2 separate regions of the Homo sapiens genome follow, and region 2 is linked to region 1. Evidence: promoter capture Hi-C in human tissues and cell types (Jung and others, 2019). All regions are on one chromosome and are shown on one strand. Each heading gives the region's core, a stretch centred on a gene start or on the middle of the fragment in contact. The rest is flanking DNA. Distances are from core to core; before and after follow the strand shown. Region 1 holds the start of PSD2 (pleckstrin and Sec7 domain containing 2). Region 2 overlaps NRG2 (neuregulin 2).

Region 1 (7,110 bases), core at 1,208-3,707:
GCCTCCAGGCAGCCCTCTGAGCCCTAGGGAGCTAGTTCCACTTGACGGAGGGGAAAGGAAGGTTCAGGAAAGGGTACAGCTGCCCATAGCCACACAGCTAGGAAGTGTGGGTTGGGGGGACTGGACTAGAACCCGGGTCTCCTTGCCCCTGCCACAGGCTCCCAGAGCTACAAAGGACAGGGGGCAGATCCAGGGGGCAGAGACTAGGTTCTGTGTGCCAGCCCAGCGCAAGTTAGCTGGAGAGACAGCTATGTCTACCTTTCCCCTTTCCCTGTTCTTTCCTTCCACATAATTTATTAAGCCATGCTGAGTGTTAGGTGCTGAGGATACACTGTGAACCCTTTCAAGGGGCTCAGAGTCCATCCAGTGGACAACAATTAAATAGTGCATTCCATGAGTAAGTAATCATTACAGCTGGAACAGCCATGGCCCATTGAGTGCATCTGTGTGCCAGGTCTTGAGCACATCAGCTCTTTCGGTCCCCATCCTAGCCTCACAAAGAGGGGGACTGCTACCATCCTCATTGGGCAGATGAGGAAGTAGGAGCCCAGAAAGGTGGTCCAGCTGTGACTTGAGGGCATGGGTGCCAAGGGTGGGGAATGTGGTATCTAAGCCCTGCCATGAGCACTTCCCTCCACAGCCCCTGCTGGTCGCCACCCTTCTCTGCCTACAGGTAGCAGAGGGCAGGGGGGTAGAATGCAGGACAGCAGGGAAGCCAAGCTCCCTCTGTGCCCTTTAAGATCCTGGGCACCTGCACAGAGAGTGGCTCCCTTGTTTCTGGGCTCTGCGGTAATGTCCTAGGGTTTGATGGGCAGTGAAGGATGTGGTCTGAGTGCCCTCTTAATTGACCAGCTGTGCTCACAGATTCAGATCTCCTGGGATCATGAGCAAGTGACTTATGCTCTCCAAGTCTCAGTTTTCTCATCTGTAAAACGGGTTGTAGGATTGTTTTGAGAATTAAATATGACACATGAAGAGCACTTGGTAGATGCTTGGTTGTCAGAGGTGTCACCATGGTTGATGAAGTCCCAGCTCCTGCTGTTGCCCAGCTTGAAGGGAGGGAGACTACGCACAGCTCAGATTCCACACCTCCAATTACTGCCACCCTAAGAGGTCAGCAAATCCTCTTCCTGCTCCCTAAGAAGAGTCCATGTTTGTGTGTTCATGGGTGGAAAGAAGGTCAGAGAAGACTTCATGAAGGAAGGGGCATTTAAGGAGGAATTTGAGGGTTCAGTAGGAGTTCACTGAGCACAGCAGGATCAAGGCCCCACCGGGCAGAGTGTGGATCATCTGCTGAGGTCTGGAGATGGAAGCAACTGGGTGTGGTGAACCCCCCAGGGGCTGGAGTAGGGGAGAGGGGTAGAAAGTGGCCTCCAGTGGCAGGGCCTGACTCTATCCTGATTTCCCTTCTCCCAGGCACTGGGCCTGCTCCCCACGCCCTCCTTAGATCCCTGTGGGTGGGGGCCCTTTAATGCCTCTCTGAGAGGCGGACTCTTACTCTGCAGGTGCCTCACAGCCAGGAAGTTCTTAATGTCTAGCCCAGGTACAGCCAGTCAACCCTCTTCTTCAGTTAGAGTCCTGGGCTGAGGGGGGCGGCTTCAGGGCCTTGACTTGCCCTTGGGGAGACACCGTGGGACAGGTGCCTTGGGAGATGGTTTCCTCTGCCCAGGGCACCCTCTGTCTCTCTCTGTCTCCTTATATCTGCCCAGGGAGGCTTCCCCTTGACCTGGCACAGGGATGTGGATTCTTGGTTGGACCCACCCCTCACCTCCCGCCTCCCTCAGGTTCTTTCTCCTTTGTCTCTTTCTCCTCTCTCCTGCCTCCTCCCATCCCACTCTGTCCCGAGGCTCCTTCTCACCCCACAGCCCAGGTCTCCGTCCCGTCCCGTGTGACTCTAGGTCTCAGGGGCTCAGTCTCCCTCTCTGAGATTCTTCACCTTGGCCCCCCGCACTCCCTGCTCCTCCCTTGGCGGCGTCTCCCGGGGGCTGGCGTGTGTGTCGGGGGGCTGGGGGCAGGGGTCACTCCCTGAACAGACCGCGGGAGGAGGGCCAGGACCCGCCCCCTCCTTCACCTCCAGGGCCTGGCGGGTCCCGAGAGCTCAGGTTCTAGACCGGTGGGTCCTGCCTGGAGGGCGGAGGTGGTTGGGTCTGCCCGAGGGTTCGAGGACGGCAGGGGCCCAGCGTGGCTAGGAGGGGGCAGAACCCCGGGCGCTCCCCTCCCCCCCTTTCTTAAAGGGCCCGCGCGGGGCAGAGGGGGACAAGGTGGGCCGCGCTCTCCCCGGCACGCTCGGGGTCCCGGGGCGAGCGCTGCGCTGCAAGCGGACAGGGCTGGGGGCCGCGCTTCCCTCCGGGCTCCGCGCCCGCCGCTCGCGCGCCCGCAGTGCCCCCGCCCTTCCCCGCCCTTCCCGCTCCTCCCTCCTCCTCCTCCTCCAGCTCACGGCTCCGCTCCCTCCCTCCTGCCGTCCGTCCCCCTCGCTCAGCCTCTCCACATCGCGGCTCCGGCACCTGAAGGGACGCGGGCGGGCGCGGGCAGCTCCGACCGGCGGCGGCGGGGCGGGACAGGCAGCCCGGCGGCCTCCGATGGCCCCGCCGTGAGAGGCCGGACCCGCGGCGGGGACCAGCAGCGGTGAGTGGGGCCGCGGGGCTCCGGGACCCGCCCCTCCCCGCTGGCGGCCAGGCCGGGGCGGGACGGGCCGGGGAGAGGGCCGCGTGCGGGTGGGGGGCGTCGCCCTCGCCCTCGGTGCCCACCCGGGTCCGCTAACAAAGCTACATTTCCAGATCAATTCCGCGGCGTCTGGAGCATCCGAAGGATACGGTTGTCATGGAGATGGGGCCGAGAGAGGAAGCCCGGGCTGGCCGGGTCTGGGCCGGGGAGAGGGGGCGCCGCGGGAAAGCCCGAGCCCAGCCTGAGGGACGGTGGGGGCTGCCGGGCCGATTGTCTCCCGGCTCCGCCACCCACTACCCTCTCCCCGCTTTTGTATAATCTGGGGGTACGCGTGTGCGTGGGGGGTGCCAGTGGCAGCCTGGTGGTCGGGGATCGGGGCATTGGGTACCGGGGCCTGCCGGCAGCCACCTTCACGAGGCTGCAGCTTTGAGGATTTATTTCTGTTTCCAGTTTCCCAACTTTGACAGCCCTGCTTGGCGGCCAGGCCTCCCCGGCTCTGCAGCTAGAGCGGGGGCTCGCACGGGGGCGTGGCAGTCAGGGCTGAGGAGGCACATAATGGCCGAGGCGGCAGCGGGAGGGAGGGGTCCCAGGAGCGGGCTGCTGGGGCTGGGTGCAGAGGGAGTCCAGACTGGGGACAACCCTGCCCAGCGGGCCCCCTCGGAGGAGGAGGTATTCAGCTGTTCCTAGAGGATGCAGGGACTCCCCGGAATGATCACTGGGGGCATTGTTTTTGCATAGGCCCAGGGGGCCACTGTCTCAAGCCCACCCCTTTGTCTTGGGGCCATCTTGGGGGGGCCAGGAAGAGAACAGGGAGCAGAAGCAGCAGTCACAATGGAAGAGGGCCTAAGACTCCTGGCAGCCTGGGGATAAGCCAGGCTGAATTTGATGGGGATCAGCGAGAGGGCTCAGGATTTGGCCAGGGCAGGTGGGCAGCCTGGGTTTGGACTTTCCTGGGTTCCCCAGTTCCTTTTTCTAGATCCTACAAACAAGAGCTGCTTAATAGTGGTTGGGGGTGGGGGGGTTCACTGGGCTGGGACTGCCTCCAAACCCAACCCGTGGCCCAGGGCAGTTGCAGTCGTTCTTTCATTCTTCCACCCTCTCCCCAGGACTTTAGGAACCTGTCTCCCAGGGAAGCTACAAGTTCTGGGGCCTGGGATCTCCGAATCAGTAAAATGTGCCTGCTGTCCTCCCAGCAGCCCCTTTCCCCAATATATGCGGGAAGCAGGGAACAGGGGCTTTTGAGTGGGGCTACTGCAAAGTTTGGTCCTGGTGGAAACATAGCAGGTCCCTAGGGTTTGGCCAGAGCCCCCAAAAGATTCCCACGCAGTGGGGTGAGTAGGTGGGTGTGGCCCAGCTAAAGGAGGATGACTGGGTTGTCCTTGGAAGGCCTCCCTCACTGGTGCCTCTTGCAAGGTTGAAGTCTCAATGCTTGGGTGAATTGCACCCTGCAGCCCAGGGATGCCCCCAGAGGCCTCCCCGCTGCAGCTTGTCCTGGTCTGACAACTATGGGGTGCACGCTCCACAAGCAGACCTGACAAATAGTGCCTCCCAGGGTCTTCCCTGAAGGGAGAGAGCAAAGATAGCTGGAAGGAATGACTTCCTGCTCTAGACAGGACTGAGAGAGAGAGTGTGGCTGGGGGGTATTACCTCACCTAGCTTCCACATATGGAGCATATGTGCTAAGTACCCTCATAACAGTCTTTAGAGGGAGGCACTACCCTTATTCCCATTTTGTGGTAGAGCTGTTTGTTCAAAGTCTCCTGGTTAGTAAGTGGCAGAGTGAGGATTTGCACTTGGCCAGAACTGTCTGATACTCAGACCTGTGTCCCCATCCTCTCCTCTTCTTCCCTGGAGACACAATTTAGGAGAGAGGTGGGAGGTGGGATAGAGTGTCTCTCCATCTGGGCAAGAGGGTGACCTTGGGAAAAACAAGCACTAAGCTGTAGTTTCCTAGGGAGGTGGGATCAAGGCATTCCCATTCCGGACGTTGGCTTGCAGGAGATCAACACTGCCTCTCACAACAGACGATGCTCTAGACCTCCTTTGCCAGATGGTCTTTTCCAGGAAAATCTGTTTTGAGCGGCATCTTATGTCTGAGGCTCCGTATTTAGACTGGCTCTCCAAACAGGAGGATACACTTAGGCTGTCGCCCCTTGAGGGGTGTTTGGGGGAGTTGGGTGGGCTTGGGGCCAGACCTGGCTCCTTGCCACAGCTCAATGGAGGGGGAGGGGCCCATGTTCCTGCCCTGGTCTCCCTGGGACCAGCTTGTTTTCCTTGTCCCTCTAAGCCGGCTTGCCCACAGGTGAGTCCGTTTCCTCAGGGTCTGGCCCCCTTTTCAGGTGGTAAGCCACTCCAGCGCTGTGCCTGCCTGGCCTGGGCTGGCCTGTGGGCTGGCCCACAGCTCTGCATGCTCAGGTTTGTGGACTGCCCTGGGGAAGGAATGTCCTCTCCTCTGACTCCTGCCCCAAAATTCCAACCCCTGAGCTCCCCTCTTTGGAACGTCTCCCTCCACTCCCTTCCTTCTCCCACCTTACTTTTTATCTTGTCAAAGCTGATAGTATAGTGAACACCCACCTACATACCCTTCACCTAGAGACCTAGATTTGCCAGTTGTTAACATTTTGCCACATTTGTTTCTCTCTCTCTCTCTTTCTCTCTCTCTCTCAATCTTTTGAAAGTAAGTTGCCAACATTATAACACTTCACCTCTAAATACTTCAGCATGAATTTCCTGAGACAGGGACATTTTTCTACAAAAATAATGCATTGTTATCATACCCAAGAAGTTTAGTAATCATCCAGTTTAACCTAACATGTAGTCCATATTTAAATTTCTCTAGTTGTCTCAGTAAAGTCCTTTATAGCTGTTTTTTTTAATTTGATCATGGAACATACATTGCATTTAGTTATTATGGCTCTTTAGTGTTTCAATCTGGATGAATCCCTGGCTTTTTTGAGATTTTTTTTAATGACATTGTCAATTTGGAAGGCTTGTGATACGTCTCACATCCTGGATTTGTCTTCTTGCTTGCTTGTGATTAGAGTCAAGTTAACCATTTTGGGGCAAGAATATCTCATAGATGATGTCATGTCCTTCTCAGTGCATGATATTGGCAGGCACCTGTTATTAGTTTGTCCTGTAGTAGGTGGTGGTAAGTTAGGTCACTTGGCTCAGGGGTCCCTGTATTTCAATTCTGTTCCTCCCCCTTCCCTACCTCCAGAAGCTTCATCTACCTGGTAATCTGCGCACCAGGTCAGCAAATCTGACTGAACCCCTACATCAGACCAGATGCTGGAGAATAGAGAAGCAGACAGAAACTTTCAGGGAGCTCAAAACTTCAGGGTTGGGAGTGGGGGAGCCACAACTCAGACAGGTGCTGTTGGTGGGGGAGAGGGGAAGCCCAGAGAAAGTAGTGAGAGGCACAGCAAGGGGAGAGGGCATGGGGGCCAGACAGGAAGGGAGGCCCAGGCCACAGCTAGCCTGGAATGTGGGCTGAGGGGTTGGCCTTTTCCCCAAGGGCACTTCAAAACCACTGAAGGGTTTTGAAGAGGGGATGATGAGGCAGTTTGGAGTGTTGGAAAGGCACTCTGAGGAGGATGGAGTGGGGCTGACTGGGCCAGCACATGGGAAAGAGACCAGCCAGGAGGCTGTGGCAGCACCCAGCACAAGACAGGGGGGACAGCATTGGGGCTGCTGCTTGTGGCATATAGAGAGAGTGGAGTTGTGTGGTTTGGGGGCCCTGCTGGGAGGGTGTTGCTGGGGGGTATCGGAGAAGGGGATGGAGCTGGGAGAGATTTAGGAAGCAGAACGGACAGGCCCTTGTGTCTGACTAGAGATAGGGAGAGTGGGAAGGATGAGCTTGTGCAATGGCTTGGGAAGGGAGATGGAGGTTTTGAGTGTATGAGGTCTGAGGTGTTTTCCAGGCCAGAGGAATGGTGTGTGGGAAGCTCATTTGGTGGCCCCAACTGTGGCCCCCTTGCAGAAGCTCATTTTGAGATGCAGGCAGAAAGAAGAGCCACACATAGCCCACTGCAGGGGATGGATGGTGGGCTTCAGGCACCAGCAGGGGAGGGCCCTGAGCAGGGCTAGGCCAGCTCAGATGGCAGCTGCCCCTGTGGAAGCCAGGATAATCCTGCCACTAACTTGCAGACCCCAATTCCCTTACCTCATTTTGCTTCTTCACACTTTCTTGGCAAAACCCCAACCCTGGTTAAATCCAATGCCTGGCCTACCCCACTCCTGCACATGCAGCTGAATGGGGCTGAGCAAAACAACTGCCCTGACTGTTCTCACTTTCAGTCCAAGCCCATGAACTCTGAACTTCAGGTGGGTCCTTAGTGCAGTCCACCAGGCACAGCACAGGTTCTGAAGTTGTCGCCTCTCCCACATGCTAGATGATTCTTTCACACTTGCTCTTTGTGTGTGTGTGTAGAGATGGGGTCTCAC
Region 2 (7,110 bases), core at 2,364-4,863, 91 kb after region 1:
ACATGCGATTCTGCAGGGAAGGCCCCGTGCCCAGGATTTGGGGGGGCAGTTTGCTCCTGGCACAGGAAGGCTTGGGTGAGATGTTTCAGTGCAGTGGGCACAAAGACAGACAGCACCCTCTGAGGAGGGGTCTCTACAGGTCAACAGAGATGCCCAGACAGAGTGCGGCCCGGGCAGGGAGAGTGCTAGGAGGTAGGGGAGCCAGCTGTTGTGTGGGCAGACAAGACAGAGAACATTTTGCCAGAAAGCAGACTCCTGCCACTGCCCCTGGCCCCTCTACTAGGTGAGATGTGTAGTGTAGGATGGGTAGGTGTGCAGGTGGCCGTTCTCTCTAAGTCACTCCGAGGGCGCCTTGGTCGCAGGGAGTCAGAAGTTCTCTATGATGGCCCACTCCTCCACCACTGACAACTCACTGCTGAGAGCCCAGGGGCAGAACAGGGAGAACAGGGAAGTTTCCAGATGCAGCAAATGGGGCAGGGCCCTGAAAGGTAGGGAGCAGGGGGCACACTTTAGACTCTTAGGGGTCCATAATACCCAGGAGGAGAAGACCAGTCCCTGTTTCTGGATTCTTTAGATGAAACTGAGGCTTAACCAGGACAGTAACTGGTTCAGAAGGCTAGAACCATCCAAAAGGTCTCATGCCCAGTCTCAGTGGGACTCTACACCCAGGAGAGGAGGGCTAGTCCTGCAAGATTCTCGTCAGTTCAGCCCTCAGTGTAGAGCTCTCTGTCAGGTTCTATAGCGGAGAAGGGGGTATCTGGGTACAGGGATCCAGGCTTTGAGGCTCTCTCATGCTGGAAGGAGAGACAGATCCCTCTACAAAGCAATGAAGCCATGTCTAAGGCACCATGGGAGGAGACAATGAGAGCTGCCTAGAGGGCTTAGGAAGGTGTCCCAGAGAGAAGACAGTTAAGCTGGGCCTTGGAGAGCCTTGCCAGGGACAAGTGAGGGGAGGAGGGCTGCCAGCATAGGGAACAGCCTGGGCCCAAGTCCAGAGCCATGAAAGGAAAGACCAGCGGCCGAGAGTGTGGCAGTGTGAGGAAACTGCATGGCAGTGACTTGTAGGCCAGGAAGAGGAGTCGGAAGAGCCCCAAGGCTGTACCTGGCATGCAGTAGGCTCTCAAGCTCTGTCTTGAATGGATGATTGAATACATGTTCCTGTTAGAAAGATCATTTCCCGTCAGACACTCATGGGGGTCAGTGACTCTGTGGACCTCTAGAATTACAAACAAACTGGGTACATAAGCCACATTTTTTTTTCCTGAAGAAAAGGACAAGGTGTCTACCAGATTCTATAGTAGAAGCTAGACTAGAGACTCATGAAGGTAAGTTTTGTTTTGTTCACTGACATATCTTGAGCCTCTAGCAGAGTGCCTGGCACATAGTTGATACTCAATACAGATATTTTAGATTCAGAAATGAATTCTCAGAGGGGCCTGTGGTCCAGAAAAGGTGGGGAGTGGCCAAGAGTGGGACAGAGGAGGAAGGCTCGAGGCAGGGAGGCCAGATAAGAAATGTGCAGGAGGAGGGAAAGAGGCACGACCCCCTGGGCAGACGACAAAGGGTCAGGGGTTGAGCAGCAGAGAGTCTGGTTGAGCCACAGTTGAGAGGGGAACACATGAGGGAGAGAAAGGACTACAGCAGGCAGGGGAGAGGCCAGATTGGGCCTTCAGAATCAGAAATGTCTGTGAGGCATCTCAGGTGTGGTATCTAGTGTCTCTCTGGCAGCATGGGTCTGGAGCTCAGGTAAAAAAGCCATTGTGTCTGGATATGGAGACTTGGGGTCTCAGATTCTTAAAGCAACAGGAGAAGGTGAAATCACCCACAGGCGGAAAGGGAGGAAAGAAAATAGTGAGGCCCAAAGCTCAGGAAAGTTCCAGCATTGATGGCAACTAAGAGACAGTGTCCAGACTCACAGCAAGACTAGGAGGAGCACCACAGGGCCCGGGGAGCAGGTATTCCCAGGCCGAGGCCGCTGAGAGGCCTGGAGGCCTGAGCCAGGAAGTGCAAAGATAACTGCGGTTTCTCCAGGACCACAGCCATCGAGAGGTTGGGATGTAACTGAAGGGCAGATTCCAGCAGGTCAAAGAGTGAGTGGAGGACGAGAGTGCGCAGTCAGTGGGCATGAGGCTAGCTCCCTCAGTGACTTCATATGGTGGTGGAGGGCGGAAGTGAGATGGGGCAACCGCTGGAGGGCCAGGGGAGCAGCAGCGTGGAGGGACAGCATTTGAGAAAAAAAGTCACGGGCGTGGGTTTGTTGGTAGGGAGAGAAAGCTGAAGTTACCAGAGAAAGGAGTGAGTTGGTGGTACCAGGGCTCTGTGGGTGTGTGTGTGTGGTGGGGGGGAATGTGCGGGAGGGAGGGTGAGTATGAGTGTGTGGCACCAGGTAGGGTGGGATGATGATAGGCAGGTTGTAGACATGTTTGGGAGCCATGAGGAGGGAAAGGGGGGCTCTCCTGACTTTCGTCACTGCAGTGAAGTAGGGGAGAAACCATCTTCTAGAAAGAAAGGATAGGAGGGAGACGGGACCCAACTGCCCCAGCTCCAAGAAGCCTGCCCATTCTCTCCAGCTTGGAAGCAGCCTTGGTAGGGCAGTGAGAAGGGGTGGGGTGGTCTCGGAAGGTGGGCTGGGTGGGCAGCCAGAGCTTCTTGCCAATGCTGTAGACAAGGGACATATAGAACCCCCCACTCGCCACTGGCCATGGCAAGTTCCTTAGGAAGCGGCATTCTTTCAGCCACAAACCTTTGATCTAAGCCAAACTCTTCCTTAATTACATTCTGTTTTCTGCCAGGATCATTTTCTTGAGTGATCAGTTTTACTTCTGCTCCCCATTCTTGGAAGGAGAATCAGAGAACTGGAAGTAACTCCCAGTCCCCTGACTCCTTTAACCTCTTTTACAGGTTCCAGAGTCTGAGGGCCAGAGGCAGGGCATGGACATCCAGCCCCACATGGCAAACCCAAGCAGCCTGCCCAGCCCTGGCCTTCTACCACTTTTTGTTGTGGGCAGGCTGGTGTGCTCTAAAACCATCCTAATTTGCATTTTGTGTGTGTGGTGGGGCGGTGAGGAGGAAAATGACAGCCAGGAAAGGAGTGGTTGTAAGCTACTCTGGGAGGGAGGGTAGAAAAGGTTTGGGAGCTCCTCAGTCAGAGAGGGAAGGCCACTAGGTCCCCGGAGCCAACAGAGCAGACATCAGGTAGAATGCCTGTTTAGCTGGCAGGCAGGGGTTTTCCCCCTTGCTTCTCCTTGAGAGGCAGCAGAGAGGTGGTGGGCTGCCTTGGACTAGCGGCTTCTCTGGTGCCAGAAGCCCCCTGCCTGACCCAGCCAAGATGGAAGACAGGCCATCTCCCATAGCCTAGAGACTCAGGGAACTTCTCTGATTCACTTCCCTGGAGCACTGATTCAGGATTAAAGACAATTCTCAACTTTTAGGGGGAAACCGTCTGAGGAACAGAGTTCTCCAACACCAATCAAAGTGTTGCTCCCTTTTCCCTTACCTAGCTCTCTGACAACTGACAGCTTGCTAAGCTGAGAAACCAGCCCATCATGTGTGACCTCCCAGAGGCATTCTGGAGTCAGGGTCTTTCACCAAAGATTGCCAAATGTTGGGGCTTTCAGACGCTACAGCAGGTTTTTCAAGAAGTTTTAGAGATGAGCAGGGTCTTCCACTGATCAAGCTGACTGTGACAGTCAAATTGCCTTCAACTATCCAGAGAAGTTAAAGGCTTAATTCTTGTCTGTGGTCTGCAAGACCCTGGGCCACCATGACCAGAGGGTCCCCGAGCTGCAGGAAGAAGGCTGGGAGTGGCAAGGAAGGGGAGTATGGAGAGGGGCTGGGACTGGTTCCATGGGTGAGTCTGGGGGCACAGCCCTGGCCTCTGCCCAGTTCAGGCCACTCCTTCTCGAGAGGAGGGAGGGCAGCTGCTTGGATGGAGGACAGGCTGGATATTGCTTACCTGCCGTTGCCATATTTGATGCGAATGTCTCGGCTGCGGTTGAGCTCCTTGCCATCCTTGAACCAACGGTAGGAAGGCTGGGGATTACCGGCTGCTGCCTCACACTTCAGCGATTGCTTCTCACCCACCTGTCCCGTCTGGCTCTTCATCTTCTTCAACTTGGGCCGGGTGGCTGTGGGTTACAAGGCAGGTAGGTGAGCACGGTGGTGGTAGGGGCAGTGCCAAGCATGAGTAGTGGAGAGTAAGGGCCACTGTCTTTGGGCTGGAACTGGGGAAGGGAAGGGTGATCCTGAGAGCCACCCCTCCTAGTGTCATTTCCTAGTTCAATTCAATAAGCATTTATAATGAGTCTGTGATGACATCAATGTAGTTATAACTTATGGAGAGTTTCCTTCATGCCTTGAATGGTATGAAGCTTTACATTAGCTTATGAAACCTTCACAGTAACCCCATGAGCTCACAGCAATGGTTAAACCCACTTACAGATGGGGAAACAGAGGCTCGGAATGGTGAAGTCACTTCCCTAAGGGCAGATGATGGAACTGGGATTCAAACACAGATCTCCTTGACATCAGTGCTCAGGATCTAAAATCATGGGTAACAAGCCATGGGGCTGTACTGGTGGGCTCAGGCCCAATCACGGATGCAAAGCTGCAAATGCCAAGCTGAGAGGCTGTCCCCATTTTTCTTAAACGCCATTCTATTTCCGCATGCCCCAGTCTCCCATGCTTCACTTCCTTGCTCCTCTCCCCACCACCAAAATACAAAACAAAACAACACACACACACACACACACACACCCTGAAAGAGAAAGTACTCTCTTCTCAGGAAGATGAGGCTAAGCCAGTGCTCGTGCTGAGGTGTATAACAATTTCCAGTGGGATAGTCCCTTACAGGATACACAAAGCCTTCATGCAGGCTCTCGTTTGGTCCCTGACCTCTGTGAGGCAGTGTCATACTGACACTGATGGTGCAGATGAGACTCAGAGAGGTGAAGAAACTTGCCTGAAGCCACATAGCCAGGCAGCCACAGAGCTGGGACCAAAGCTCAGGTATCAAGATTTGCCACGTGTTAGGCTGGTAGCAGGATGGTGTCTGATTTTGTGGTCTTATTTCTCTCTGTGAGATGGTTAAAAGCCTTCCAGTAGCAGAAGGGAGGGTCTGTTGGAGCCAGGGAGTTGTCTGGGAACTGATTGGCCCTGTCTCGGCCATTGGTCCTTTCCCTAGCAACTCAGAGTGCTGACAATGGGCCAGAGCTGGCTCTGGAGAAAGGCAGGCAAGAGGGCCTGGCTAGAACAGGGGTCCCCTCATTGAACTTCACCCTGAGCTGCTGCATATACGCAGGGAGTAGATGAGAGGGGCACAGGGCACAGAGGAAGCACAGAAAGGAAGACTTTAAAAATGTATGACGTAGGCTTACACAATGATTCTCGTAAAATAATTTTGTTCATTTTAGAAAATGAAAAAATACAGAGGAGTGAAAAAAGAAGAAAACAAAACCTTCCTTTGTCTCCATACTCATAAATAACACCTCCCCCCATTTTTAAACAAAATGGAATCAATGCCATTTGTGGATAATAATAACAATAATAGCTAACCTTTGTTAAATGCTCTCTATGTGCCAGGCTCTATGTATTCTTTCATTTAATGAAACAGTGTAACCCTTTCGCCTGGGTGTTAAATATTAATAATAGCATTTCCCAAAGTGTATTCTATAAGCAGGAGTATCTGGAGAGATGAAAACAGATATTACTTGACAAGAGGGTTCCATGGGAAAATGGGTTTGGAGAGCATGTGGGTTAAGCATAGTTAAAGAAGTATCTATCAACTTCAGTATCGTTCTCTAAGTGGGGGCCTTGAAACCTTTTTTCTTGGAACTCTTGGTAGCATTTCAAGGAAATGAAAGTTATGTGGAACAAATTCTATGACTTATATGTGTATTTGTTTGTGTATATATATATTTCAACAATGATTCCATTGAATATATATATATAAACATATATTTTGACAGATATTAACATGATTCAAAATTCAAGAAGTGAAAAGAGGTATATGGATTAAAAAACAAGTCTCTCTCTAACTTCTGGCCACAACCACACAGTTGTCTTTCTAGGAGATAATCAATCTTATGGGTTCCTTTGACCTCCTTTCAGAAATATTTTATGCATATACAAATCCCGCACCCCCGAGTATTCACACACTCAGTTTTTCTTACAGCATCATTTTTCATGGTTGCATAATGTTCCTGTATGGGTGTATCATAACTTATGTAACTGATTCCTGTGTGGAACATTTAGCATGCCCCCTCCCCCTTCCCATTACAAACAACCCCAAAAGAACATCCTTGCAGCTTTATCTTTGCACACACCCCATGTATACTGCTGTATGGGGGAGGATGGCTCTAGACTCAGGCTGTCTGGCTTTCAATCCAGACTTTGCTACTTGTTAGATTTGTGTCCAAGAATTAACTTCATTCGTTTGCGCCTCAACTTCCACAGCTGTAAAATACAGGAGATAAATAATAGCTCTTACCTCTTGGGATGATGGCTGTGAGGATTATATGAGACAATGCATGTAGAGCCTGGCACATAGAGAGCATTTAACAAAGGTTAGCTATTATTATTATTATTCACAATTATTTCCTAAGGCGATCTTCCTAAAAGTGGAATTGCTGCGTCAGAAGGTATGCAATCTTTCTCAGCTTTGTACATTGCCAAATTGCCCTTTGGAAAGGTTGCACCAATTTGCGCTCCCCCCAGTGAATGACAGTGCCTGTTTTTTCCACACACTCACCAACACGAGGTATTATCATGTCTTTAATCTTTGCCAATTAGCTAGGCAAAAGATAACGTCTCTTTGTCATTTTAATTTGCATTTATTTGATTACTGATGAGGCTGAACATTTTTCATGAGTGTATTGGCCCATTGTATTTCTTCTTTTTGAATTGCCTGTTCATGCATGCAGTCTGTTTTCCTATCGAGTGCTCATCCTAGTGATTTGTAAGAACTTTTTATAAATATTAAGGCTATTAACCTTTTGCTACAAAGTTTTTTCCCCTCAGTTACCTGCTTTTTTTATATTGCTGGTTCTTCTTCTTCGTCTTTTTCTTTTCTTTTCTTTCTTTCTTTCTTTCTTTTTTTTTTTTTTTTTGGCA

What was found. The method cuts DNA at HindIII sites, captures the fragments that hold promoters and counts their contacts. A contact is called where the count stands out against the background at its distance.
Region 2: a contact is called between a fragment that was not itself captured here and the fragment with the promoter of PSD2 in region 1, in 3 of the 25 tissues and cell types used here (adrenal gland, bladder and heart left ventricle).

What each region holds. Positions count from the first base shown.
Region 1 is chr5:139,793,351-139,800,460 of GRCh38, forward strand. It overlaps PSD2 (pleckstrin and Sec7 domain containing 2), which reads left to right and starts at 2,458. Exons shown (of 15, transcript NM_032289.4): 1 at 2,458-2,625. RefSeq lists a silencer at 1,977-2,176. The HindIII fragment of the contact is 20,038 bases long and covers 1-7,110 here.
Region 2 is chr5:139,883,385-139,890,494 of GRCh38, forward strand. It overlaps NRG2 (neuregulin 2), which reads right to left. Exons shown (of 10, transcript NM_004883.3): 2 at 3,956-4,127. Among named protein-coding and RNA genes, the nearest start is that of PSD2, 91 kb to the left of the region's middle. The HindIII fragment of the contact is 4,447 bases long and covers 1,391-5,837 here.